4 separate regions of the Homo sapiens genome follow, and all the other regions are linked to region 1. The links are contacts of gene promoters, found by promoter capture Hi-C in blood cells and fetal thymus (Javierre and others, 2016). All regions are on one chromosome and are shown on one strand. Each heading gives the region's core, a stretch centred on a gene start or on the middle of the fragment in contact. The rest is flanking DNA. Distances are from core to core; before and after follow the strand shown.

What was found. The method cuts DNA at HindIII sites, captures the fragments that hold promoters and counts their contacts. A CHiCAGO score of 5 or more calls a contact.
Region 2: the fragment with the promoter of GSTK1 here is called in contact with the fragment with the promoter of TRPV5 in region 1 in 4 of 17 cell types (neutrophils, erythroblasts, monocytes and 1 more); the score reaches 9.1 in neutrophils.
Region 3: a contact is called between a fragment that was not itself captured here and the fragment with the promoter of TRPV5 in region 1, in 1 of 17 cell types (neutrophils). The highest score is 7.4, in neutrophils.
Region 4: a fragment that was not itself captured here is called in contact with the fragment with the promoter of TRPV5 in region 1 in 8 of 17 cell types (neutrophils, M0 macrophages, naive B cells and 5 more); the score reaches 8.8 in neutrophils.

The regions. Positions count from the first base shown.
Region 1 is chr7:142,932,435-142,935,134 of GRCh38, forward strand. It overlaps TRPV5 (transient receptor potential cation channel subfamily V member 5), which reads right to left and starts at 1,312. Exons shown (of 15, transcript NM_019841.7): 1 at 898-1,312. The coding sequence starts at 1,025. The HindIII fragment of the contact is 14,618 bases long and covers 919-2,700 here.
Region 2 is chr7:143,262,163-143,264,890 of GRCh38, forward strand. GSTK1 (glutathione S-transferase kappa 1) reads left to right here and starts at 1,279. Exons shown (of 8, transcript NM_015917.3): 1 at 1,279-1,423; 2 at 1,924-2,005; 3 at 2,386-2,514. The coding sequence starts at 1,352. The region is part of intron 2 of TMEM139-AS1 (TMEM139 antisense RNA 1); the gene reads right to left. It overlaps LOC105375546 (a long non-coding RNA gene), which reads left to right. Exons shown (of 3, transcript XR_007060569.1): 3 at 986-1,045. RefSeq lists a silencer at 1,097-1,166 and enhancers at 1,194-1,488, 1,307-1,526. The HindIII fragment of the contact is 19,965 bases long and covers 1-2,728 here.
Region 3 is chr7:143,302,995-143,305,694 of GRCh38, forward strand. It overlaps CASP2 (caspase 2), which reads left to right. Exons shown (of 11, transcript NM_032982.4): 9 at 790-939; 10 at 1,680-1,789; 11 at 1,946-2,700. The coding sequence ends at 2,077. Among named protein-coding and RNA genes, the nearest start is that of CLCN1, 12 kb to the right of the region's middle. The HindIII fragment of the contact is 3,319 bases long and covers 1-2,700 here.
Region 4 is chr7:143,202,693-143,205,392 of GRCh38, forward strand. It overlaps LOC124901764 (a long non-coding RNA gene), which reads right to left. Exons shown (of 2, transcript XR_007060567.1): 1 at 484-2,700. Among named protein-coding and RNA genes, the nearest start is that of TAS2R40, 18 kb to the right of the region's middle. The HindIII fragment of the contact is 1,499 bases long and covers 619-2,117 here.

The DNA of each region.
Region 1 (2,700 bases), core at 62-2,561:
AATGCAGGACCCCTTGTTCAAAATTATTAAGAACTTGAAGATGAGGACAGCAGGGCATTGAACAAAGCACAGGAATCTTCTGGAGTACAGGGGAGCCCTTTGTGACTGCTAATGTCTGCTCAACAACCTCACCCCTCAGGCAGCTGTTGGGTGGGAGGCAAGCCCCAAAACACTTGGAGGAAGAAGCAGCCCACAGGATTCGTCCCTGCCCCAGCTGCTCTTCCTGGGACTGGACCTCAGGGCTAAGCCATGAAATGATTTACCTGCAGGTGTGCTAGCCCTGCCCGAACTAAGAGCTCTCCAGGAGCAGGCACAAGTCTCATTCAATCTTTATGTCATTGGGATCTAACACCCCTCTGCACACAGTAGACTCAATAAAAGGCAGATGGACTGAACTCAGAGCCCTCCAGTGTCACCTGAGCTGCCCTCCTCCACTGGTCAGCACCCAGTGTTACACCAAACAAAGCGCTCCTCCCCTTTCCCACACAGTCCACTTTCATTCAAATGAATGGCGTTTCCTTATCGTGCTTCCACCACCCACAGGAGTGCATCCCTTCTTCAGCAGCCTGCTTCTGCCTTCCCTCCCCATCCCACACAACCTGGCTTCTTCCCTCTGGTCCTTTTTGGTCCTTTCACTCCCCCTTGGCTGTCATTCTGCCTCTGTCCTTAGGTCTACCCTCAAGATTTTCCTGTGTGGCCCAAAGCCACATCCTCCACCGCCACTAAAAGGGGCCAGCTGGGATTCTGTAATTAGGTGGGCTGGAAGGAAAGGGTATGTCTGAGTGACTGGCACTGACAATACACTTCTAGGGTGCTGTATTCGGAAAGCAGGCCCAGGTGGGTCAGAGGGTCTGAGGATCACGGCGGTAGGGCCACGGATCGTTCTAGGAAGCCTACCTCTTCTGCTGCAGCATATGAAGCTTGTCCAGGTGCTGGTCCCAGTCTTGTTCTCTGACCAGAAAGGAGGGCAGAAGTTTCTGGAGTTGGCTCCCGGGCCCTTCTGCCTTAGGTAGAAAACCCCCCATGTCTTCTCCTTGCAGACACTGGCAGATTATAGAAATGTGGCGAAAGAAACAGGTCTAGGATGACAGCAACTGAGCAAGAGATGGGGTCTATTTGGGGCTGGGACTCTGAGTTTATCTCCTGTATGACTTGTGTATGCAGCATGCAGCTTGTAGGTGTGTGTGTGTGCATGCAGTATGTGGGTTGTGGGGTGTGCGTGTATGCACAGTGTGTGGCTGTGGTGTATGTGTGTGCATGCAGTGTGTGGTTGTGAGGTGGTGTGTGTGCATGCAGGTGCGCTGAGGGGACTGACCGCCCTGCCTGGGGAGAAGTGCTTTTCCTGGAGGGGGAGGAGCTCTTTGCAGAGCTGAGCCCCACAGCCACAGAACCACCCTGGGGAAGAAAAGGAGGAGGGGAAGGAAGGTTCCTAACTGTGGGCTGGGATGGCTGAGACCCGAGAAGCTAAGAGGTGGGGCAGAGGAATTTGGAAAAAGAAAAGGGATGGAAGGTGGGTCCACAAACAAGGTGCACAGTTAGTTGCATGAGGGAGAGGAGGAAATAAAGACTTCCAGCTCAAGAGTCAGGCAGAGCCTGGTTCAAATCCTGACTCTTATCCCTTACAGTTAGGTGAGCTTTCTGAGCCTCAGTTCCTAACCTGTGAAATTGGGGTAACGGCTATGCCGTCTCACGGGAGCATCTGTAAAGCATGTGTCACAAGTACTCAATCACTGCCGATCCTCCTTCCACAAGAGGGCTCAAGAGACCCCCGGGCTGCTTCTCAGAGCTTCCCATTTATGTGTCTTGTGGTCATCTCTGTCCTCAACCCTGTACCTCAAAGGAGGGTTTCTGACCCCCACTTCCCAGGCCAATCCCTCTCTGTGAGAAGTCCTCATGACCGTGACCGGCCAGCTTCCTGGAGCGTCGCCGAGCAGGCTCTGGTACCTGGGGACGCAGGTCAGAGGAGCCCCCAGGGGCCTCGAGTTATTATGGAGGTTGAACAGCAGAAACTGAGCAAAGGTAGACGACAAATAAATCGTGATTCCATGTTTGGGACTCTTTCCAGGAATGAAACACCAGGAGGAATAAGTAATGTTGCACTATTTTATATATTTTATATTATATTTTATATATTAAGTAGTTTCCCTTATCCACAGTTTCACTCTCTGATGGTTCAGTTACCTAAGGTCAGCCACAGTTGGAAAATAGGTGAGTACAGTACTATAACATATTTTGAGAGACAGAGAGAAAGAGAACATTCACATAACTTTATATTATTATAATTTTCATTTTATTGTTGTTAAACTCTTTTTTTTTTTTTTTTGAGACAGAGTTTCACTTTCGTTGCCCAGGCTGGAGAGCAATGGTGTGATCTTGGCTCACTGCAACATCCACCTTCCAGGTTCAAGTTATTCTCCTGCCGCAGCCTCCCTAGTAGCTGGGATTACAGGTGCCCACCACCACGCCTGGCTAATTTTTGTATTTTTAGTAGAGACAGGGTTTTACCATGTTGGCCAGGCTAGTCTCGAACTCCTGACCTCAGGTGATCTGCTTGCCTCGGCCTCCTGAAGTGCTGGGATTACAGGCGTGAGTCACTATGCCCGGCCTAAACTCTTCACTGTGCCTAATGTATAAATTAAACTTCATCATATGTATGTATGTATGTATGTATGTATGTATGTATGTATGTATGTATGTACG
Region 2 (2,728 bases), core at 29-2,528, 330 kb after region 1:
ATCTCAAACTACCCCCTTCCCACAAGACTCCACTGCAGAGCAGGACAGTCACCCTGACACCAGCCCAATGGGTTCATCTTGCCCATTACCCAGATGGGGCTAATTTATCAAGACAAGGGAATTGCAATAGAGAAAGAGTTTAATACACATAGAGCCAGCTAAACAGGAGACCAGAGTTTTATTATTACTCAAATTAGCCTCCCAAAATTCGGAGGCAGAGGCTAGGGGACTTTGTGGGTTTTTTTGTTTTTGTTTTTGTTTTTCTTTTGAGAGGGAGTCTTGCTATGTCACCCAGGCTGGAGTGCAGTGGCATGATCTCGGCTCACTGCAACCTCTGCCTCCCGGATTCAAGCAATTCTCCTGACTCAGCCCCCCGAGTAACTGGGATTACAGGCACATGCCACCATGCCCGGCTAATTTTTGCATTTTTAGTAGAGACAGGGTTTCACCATGTGGGCCAGAGTGGTCTTGAACTCCTGACCTCAAGTGATCCACCCACCTCAGCCTCCCAAAGTGCTGGGATTACAGGCGTGAGCCACCATGCCCGCCGGCTAGAGTTTTTTAATGATAGTTTGATGGGCAAGGGGCTAGAGAATGGGTGCTGCTAATTGGTTGGGGATGCAATCACAGGGGTGTGGAAAACCGTCCTCAGTGCACCGAGTTGCATTTGGATGCGGGCCACAGAGGAGTCACTGGTCCAGGTGGAGTCATCCTGTCATTAGAAATGGAAAAGTCTGAGAAGGTATCTTCAAAGGCCAGTCTTAGGTTCTACAAAAGTGGTTATTTACAGGAATAATTGGGGAAGTTGCAGAGCTTGTGACCTCTGGAACAATGTCTGGTAATTGTTAATGCCTACATCTTAGCAGAATTCAGGCCCCTCTCATAATCCTAAACTTGTGGACTTTTATTAGTTTTATAAAACTGGTTTAGTTTGGGGAAGGGCTATTATCATTTAAACTATAAACTAAATTTCTCCCTATATTAGCTCGTCCCATGCTCAGGAATGACCAAGGGCAGTTTGGAGGTTAAAGGCACGATGGAGTTGGTGAGTTCAGATCTGTTTCACCTTCGTAATTTTCTCACTGTTAAAATTTTTGCAAAGGCGATTGCAGCGCCCCTTGTCCACACCTGCGCGCTCCCCAAGGGGTCCCTACCCACCCCGCCCCTGGCTGGGGGCCGTAGGCTGGCCCTGCCCCGCTGCGCCGGAGGTGGACCTCTACCAGGGCAGTTTCTCTCTGAGGCTGCGCGCTAAGGCGGTGGGCGGTCCCAGGCAGGCCCAGAAGCTGGGCAGCCTCTGCCGGGTTCCGGGAAAAGGAGCTCCTGCTGCCACTGCTCTTCCGGAGCCTGCAGCATGGGGCCCCTGCCGCGCACCGTGGAGCTCTTCTATGACGTGCTGTCCCCCTACTCCTGGCTGGGCTTCGAGGTGACGCTGGGAGGGGTCGCCTCGGCAGTGTCTGGGGAGTGAGGGCGGAGGGAAGAGTGAGCGCAGGGCTCCGGGACAGAGGTCTCGTGTAACTCCTGGCGCCGCCCAAGGGGTTAAGGCAAGCAGGGAGAGCTCCGGGGCTGAAGGTCACTTTGTGCTTTTAAACGGAATAGAGTCGCTGGCTCCAACCCGAGCCTTTATATCCCGACTGCAGTTTCCCACGGTGGTGGAAAGAGGGGCGGCTCCAAACATTCAGGGAGAAATGCAGAACACGGCCACCTCTTAGCCCAACGATGGCAGTTTTGGGGAAAACTGGCCACAGGAGCGAAGATCCTGGAATAGATTTCTAGTAGTGAGGAGAGTTTTGCCAATTTCAAACCAAACAATGTAGGGTGTCCGCATAACCCCTGCTCTGCACTTAGCGCCTCCCTTCCCTTTCCCTCGGCTCTTTCACTTTTCCATCTTGCACACTGGCAATCGTTCTTGACCTCTGCCCGCAGATCCTGTGCCGGTATCAGAATATCTGGAACATCAACCTGCAGTTGCGGCCCAGCCTCATAACAGGGATCATGAAAGACAGTGGTAGGAAGGGAGGGTCGGGGCAGGGGTGATCTCAGTGGCCCAAGAGAGCCGACCCCAGCGGGTCCTTATATTGGCACTGGCAGCCAGAAAGCTGCCCTCTGCCCCGTCTCTACTAAAAATACAAAATTAGCCGGGCGTGGTAGTGCATGCCTGTATACCACAGCTACTCGGGAGGCTGAGGCGGGAGAATCGCTTGAACCCAGGAGGCGGAGGTTGCGGTGAGCTGAGATCGCACCATTGCACTCCAGCCTGGGCAACAAGAGCGAAACAACAAGAGAAAAAAAAGGAAGCTGCCCTCTGCCCAAAACCCACGTCGAGGTCCCCAAACCTGGGACCCTTAGGTCTTTTCTCACTTAGCGTGCCCAACCTTCTCCTGGCAGGAAACAAGCCTCCAGGTCTGCTTCCCCGCAAAGGACTATACATGGCAAATGACTTAAAGCTCCTGAGACACCATCTCCAGATTCCCATCCACTTCCCCAAGGATTTCTTGTCTGTGATGCTTGAAAAAGGTGAAGAGAGTGGGATGTAGACAGGGTATCCAGTGAAAAACACAGAAGTCGGAGATTGAGGGATTGATAGGATGGAGGGGCTGCGGGAGACTAAAGCAAGTGAAGCCTGCCTTGGGAAACCTCAGGATCAGCCTTGAGCGAGCTGAAGGTTGCCGGGCATGAAAGGGAAGAAGAGCAGGCAAATAGGTCATGGGAACCTTGGGTGAGAGGCTGA
Region 3 (2,700 bases), core at 65-2,564, 370 kb after region 1:
GACTCATGCCTATAATCCCAACACTTTGGGAGGCCGAGGCAGAAGGATCACTTGAAGCCAGGAGTTCAAGACAAGCCTGGTCAACGTAGCAAGACCCCATCTCTATTAAAAAAAGAAAAAAAAAGATTTAAAAAGTTATTTTAAAAAATAAATTAAAAATTTTTTTTCTTAAATCTTGGATGCTTGCTATAATTTATCTTATGAAATTAATAAACATAGTGCTTCGAAGATATCAAAACCACCTTGGAAACAACTGATCATACTTAGTTTTATTATTTTTTGATACATAGTTCGAGGTTGTGATTTTTATATAGCATACATATGGTAACCGTATTTGTTATTTATTACCTTGTTTTTTCTTGTTTATGTAATTAAATATATCAATATTTTATTATGTATTGCAATAAAAAGCACTGTGACTCCCAGGCATATTGTTAATTGAACAAGTGAGTTGTGGACTTAGATGATTTTCAGTTCCATTTACAAGGAGTATTTGATTTGGCATTTTCCCTGTCTTACACAGAATGGGAACTGCTCCAACCGCATAGATGTGCATGTGCTTGAGCGTGGTGCCCGGTGTGTATGAGGCATCCCCTGAGTAACAGATGCATGCTGAGAGAGTAATAATTTTTTTTTTTTTTTTTTAGTTTATCAGCCATAGGTTGGAGGCAACAGCTGGAAATGGCTCTTCCCCTTCAAGGTTGTAGGGAACGTGGGCTTGCCTGTGACAGGCCCAAGAGAGATAGGAAGAAGTAACATCATTGTCCATTCTGTCTGCCTTTGTTACAGATGAGACTGATCGTGGGGTTGACCAACAAGATGGAAAGAACCACGCAGGATCCCCTGGGTGCGAGGAGAGTGATGCCGGTAAAGAAAAGTTGCCGAAGATGAGACTGCCCACGCGCTCAGACATGATATGCGGCTATGCCTGCCTCAAAGGTACTTTGAGTTCCAAAAGAGTTGAGTCATACCTCATTTTGTTGCACTTTGCTTTATTGTGCTTTGCAGGTACAGGTTGAGTATCCCTTATCTGAAGTGTTGGAACCAGAAGTGTTTCAGATTTTGGATTTTTTTGTTTTTTTGGATTTTGGAATATTTGCGTTATACTTACTAGTTGAGTATCCCGTATCCAAATATTCTAAATTTAAAACACTCCCATGAGCACCTTCTTTGAGCATCATATTGGCACTTGGAAAGTTTCAGATTTTGAAGCATTTCAGATTTTTTGGATTTGGGATGCTCAGCTGCTTTTTACAAATTGAAGGTTTGTGGCAATCCTTTGAGCATCTGTCAGCACCATTTTTCTATTGGCATGCCTCTGTTAGCATTTTTCAGCAATAAAGTATGTTTTAATTACAGCATATGCATGTTTTAGACATAATGTTGTTGCACACTTAATAGACTGTAGGATAGTAACCATAACTTCCGTATACACTGGGAGACCTGAAAATTTGTATGACTTGCTTTATTGCCATATTCACTTTCTTAAGCTGGTCTGGAAACAGACCTACGGTATCTCCAAAGTATGCCAATAATCCAAAAGAGTACCCTCCTAGACTTAGATTCTTCATGCTGGGTTCTCTGACTAGGGAGGGTGCAGGTGTCATGGCCGAGTCTAGTTTGGGAAGTGCAGCTGTGTGATGGCATTCACACTGTGATTAATGCCCTTTTGGTTGCAGGGACTGCCGCCATGCGGAACACCAAACGAGGTTCCTGGTACATCGAGGCTCTTGCTCAAGTGTTTTCTGAGCGGGCTTGTGATATGCACGTGGCCGACATGCTGGTTAAGGTGAGCCAGCGGGCTCCGTGACCCCTGTGTGTCTCCACAGTGCTCTACTTTCCTCCTCTCTTGAATGCTCTTTCATAGTCCGTCTCCCCTTCCCGTTTGCTGCTCTCCTGAAGCCCGAGATTCTCAGACTTGGGCCTATTGGTTCTGCCCCTCCAGGTGAACGCACTTATCAAGGATCGGGAAGGTTATGCTCCTGGCACAGAATTCCACCGGTGCAAGGAGATGTCTGAATACTGCAGCACTCTGTGCCGCCACCTCTACCTGTTCCCAGGACACCCTCCCACATGATGTCACCTCCCCATCATCCACGCCAAGTGGAAGCCACTGGACCACAGGAGGTGTGATAGAGCCTTTGATCTTCAGGATGCACGGTTTCTGTTCTGCCCCCTCAGGGATGTGGGAATCTCCCAGACTTGTTTCCTGTGCCCATCATCTCTGCCTTTGAGTGTGGGACTCCAGGCCAGCTCCTTTTCTGTGAAGCCCTTTGCCTGTAGAGCCAGCCTTGGTTGGACCTATTGCCAGGAATGTTTCAGCTGCAGTTGAAGAGCCTGACAAGTGAAGTTGTAAACACAGTGTGGTTATGGGGAGAGGGCATATAAATTCCCCATATTTGTGTTCAGTTCCAGCTTTTGTAGATGGCACTTTAGTGATTGCTTTTATTACATTAGTTAAGATGTCTGAGAGACCATCTCCTATCTTTTATTTCATTCATATCCTCCGCCCTTTTTGTCCTAGAGTGAGAGTTTGGAAGGTGTCCAAATTTAATGTAGACATTATCTTTTGGCTCTGAAGAAGCAAACATGACTAGAGACGCACCTTGCTGCAGTGTCCAGAAGCGGCCTGTGCGTTCCCTTCAGTACTGCAGCGCCACCCAGTGGAAGGACACTCTTGGCTCGTTTGGGCTCAAGGCA
Region 4 (2,700 bases), core at 118-2,617, 270 kb after region 1:
AGCCAAGGCCCTCCAGGCTTCTAGCAGCCTGATCAGCCACCACATTCCCAGAGGCCCATGACATGCATATTCTGAGCATCCTTTACTCCACTTCATCTACAATATGCTTTTTCTGATTGTCCACAACCAAGAAATAGGATGAAATCTCCAGTCTGCTCTTGGCCATCCTCATTCCCTTCTCTTTAGTGTTATGATATTTTTTTCTCTATGGAGTCTCAGAAGAAAGGGAAGTAGTGAACACATTATTTAAAAAATCAAATCAAAACCTTATACATACTTTTTTTTTATCATACAAGAACCTCTGGGTCTATTTCAGAAGCTTAATATTTGGTGCCCAAAATATTTTATCCTGGACAATCTTATATTGCACAAATCTTAATTCAGAGTCATAAAAGTCCCCCAAACTGGCTTTTTAAGCTGGTGCATAAACCCCATTGATGATAGTCTTATCCTATTTTTGTTTATGCTCATGTGCTTTCTCACCTGTTAAGAAACTTGCTAATTCTATTATGCGACTCTCTGGCAAAGCTTATCAAAGCTTCAAATTAATTAAGCAGTGGCAGCTCCCAATTTCCTTTTCTTACTGGCAAAAATTTGTTTCACAGAAAATGTTTAGAAAGCTTAAGTTGGTAACAGCTGATTGTTGACCTGGAAATAAGAGGTCTTCATCAATATGTTAAGCGGTCAGGATACTTAAAGAAAAACATCTATGGAGACTTCTTAGCATGCACTCTAGGCAAATACTTGCTGTCCTTCACCATTATTTCAGGATTTTTTTTTCCTAAAAGCATAAGAACAAACACATAAATGATAAAAGCAGAATTTAGGCCAACTCTAGCTTGCCTGCCAAGTAGGTAAGATGCGGTGGCAGAATACTGGCTACACTTGTGCCTGTATCACCATGGAGACCCTACTCTGACCATCAAATAATGGGATTCTAATGAGGAATGCTGCTGAACAACAAGCATGGCTGAGCACAAAGACAGAGCTGCTGGCATTGGAACATGGGAGTGAGCAAGAAAGGGGCAGCCCAAGGGAGAAGAAAAGGTGACACTGAACGTAGGTGTCGTGATGAGAAGAAAATAGGTTGCAGGTGGTGACTGCCTGGAGACCAGCCCAAATCACCTTCCACCTTTACGTGGAATCCAGGCTCAAAGCAGGAGGGACAAACTTGAGTGGGATAAATGTGACATGAAATGAGTCAGTTTGCCCAGAATATGTTTTTACCTATGAGGTGGATTGCATGGGATGGGGGAGGGGGGCTTGTAGGCAGGAGGGGCTGGGTCATGGAAATTAAATGAATTACTTTCCTAATGTGCATTGTTGTTTTTTTTTTTTTTTACACAATTGGTTCACAAAATAAAAAATTAATCCTTACTTTATGTATGAGCTCATCTGGGATTTTGAAATAGCCTCCTGATGCACATCTGTACTTAGACCAATTCTAAATCCTGGACTAGAATTTTGAGTAAAATCATCTCCAGGCAAGAGCCAGGACCAGTGAGAGCTGAGAGGCTCAAGAAGTGATGAGAATAGATTAGATGAACCCTCACTGCTGATATCAGAATTAGAAATGAATTATAACAAGGCTGAGTTTCAAAGAGAAATGCCCAGGATGGGGTCAGGATGCACCTTTCTCTCTCTCCATACAAGCTCTCCCTGAGGGGTCTCCTCTATTCTAAGTGCTCAGGTCCCCTCACAAGCCAATGGCTTCCAAACTTGTGTTTATCTCATCTCTTGCTCTTGATCTCCAGGCCTCTCTACCCACCAACAATCCCTTCTCCTATATATATATTTTTGGGCCCAAATTTTTGCTAAGTGAATTGTTCTGGCTCTAACTATCCTCTCCTTTGCAAATGAGAGGTCTTTCATTCTAAGAATTATCATGGGCCGGCATTTGTAGCTGACATTGAAAATAAACCTCCCCCCTCCCCAGAACTGCCTATAAGATGTGATTTTCTGAAAACCTGCAGGCCTTGGGAATGCAAATCAGAGAAAGATCCAATTGTCACCAACACTTACCAGGGAACACTGCCATTTGCATCTGCACTCCAGATCCCCGGTGGCTGCAAATATATCAGTGGCTCATTCAAACCAGAGCCCAGGCACAGATTGAAAGCTTGAGTGGAGGTGGATTTGGAAAGAGGAATGAAAAGGACACAGCTCTGGAAACTGGGGGGAATGAGCCCGTGTCACTGCCAAGATGGAAGGGTAGGCAGTGCATTCCCACATGTCTGACCCTAAGATTTCAAATTTCATTAGTAGCATCTCCTTTAGCTCAACCTAACTACAAGGAGAACGAGAAATACAAGGAAGTCCCTGCCATGTTTGGGGAGCATTTTTATCTCTGCCCCAGCATCTCCCATTTTCTGCTGAACTAAAAACCTTTCTCTTTCTCAAGATATGTGGAAAAGGAAAAGGAGAAATAAGGAATATCTCTTACTTTAGTCCTTCATTTTTCTAGCTTCCCAACTCTCCAACTCAGACTCTCGCTCTGACCCCCAAGTCAAATATGGCAGGTAGCACTGCCTTCTTTAGGGGTCTTCCAGATTATGCTACCACCACCACCACCACCACCACTCCACTTTTCAGAAACATGTGGGTTTCCACTTGTCAAAAATAAAACAACCCTCTTGATCATTATAGACTTGGGGTCTTGGCTAGAGAACAAATGAAAACAGAATTAAGAACAAAGAGGCG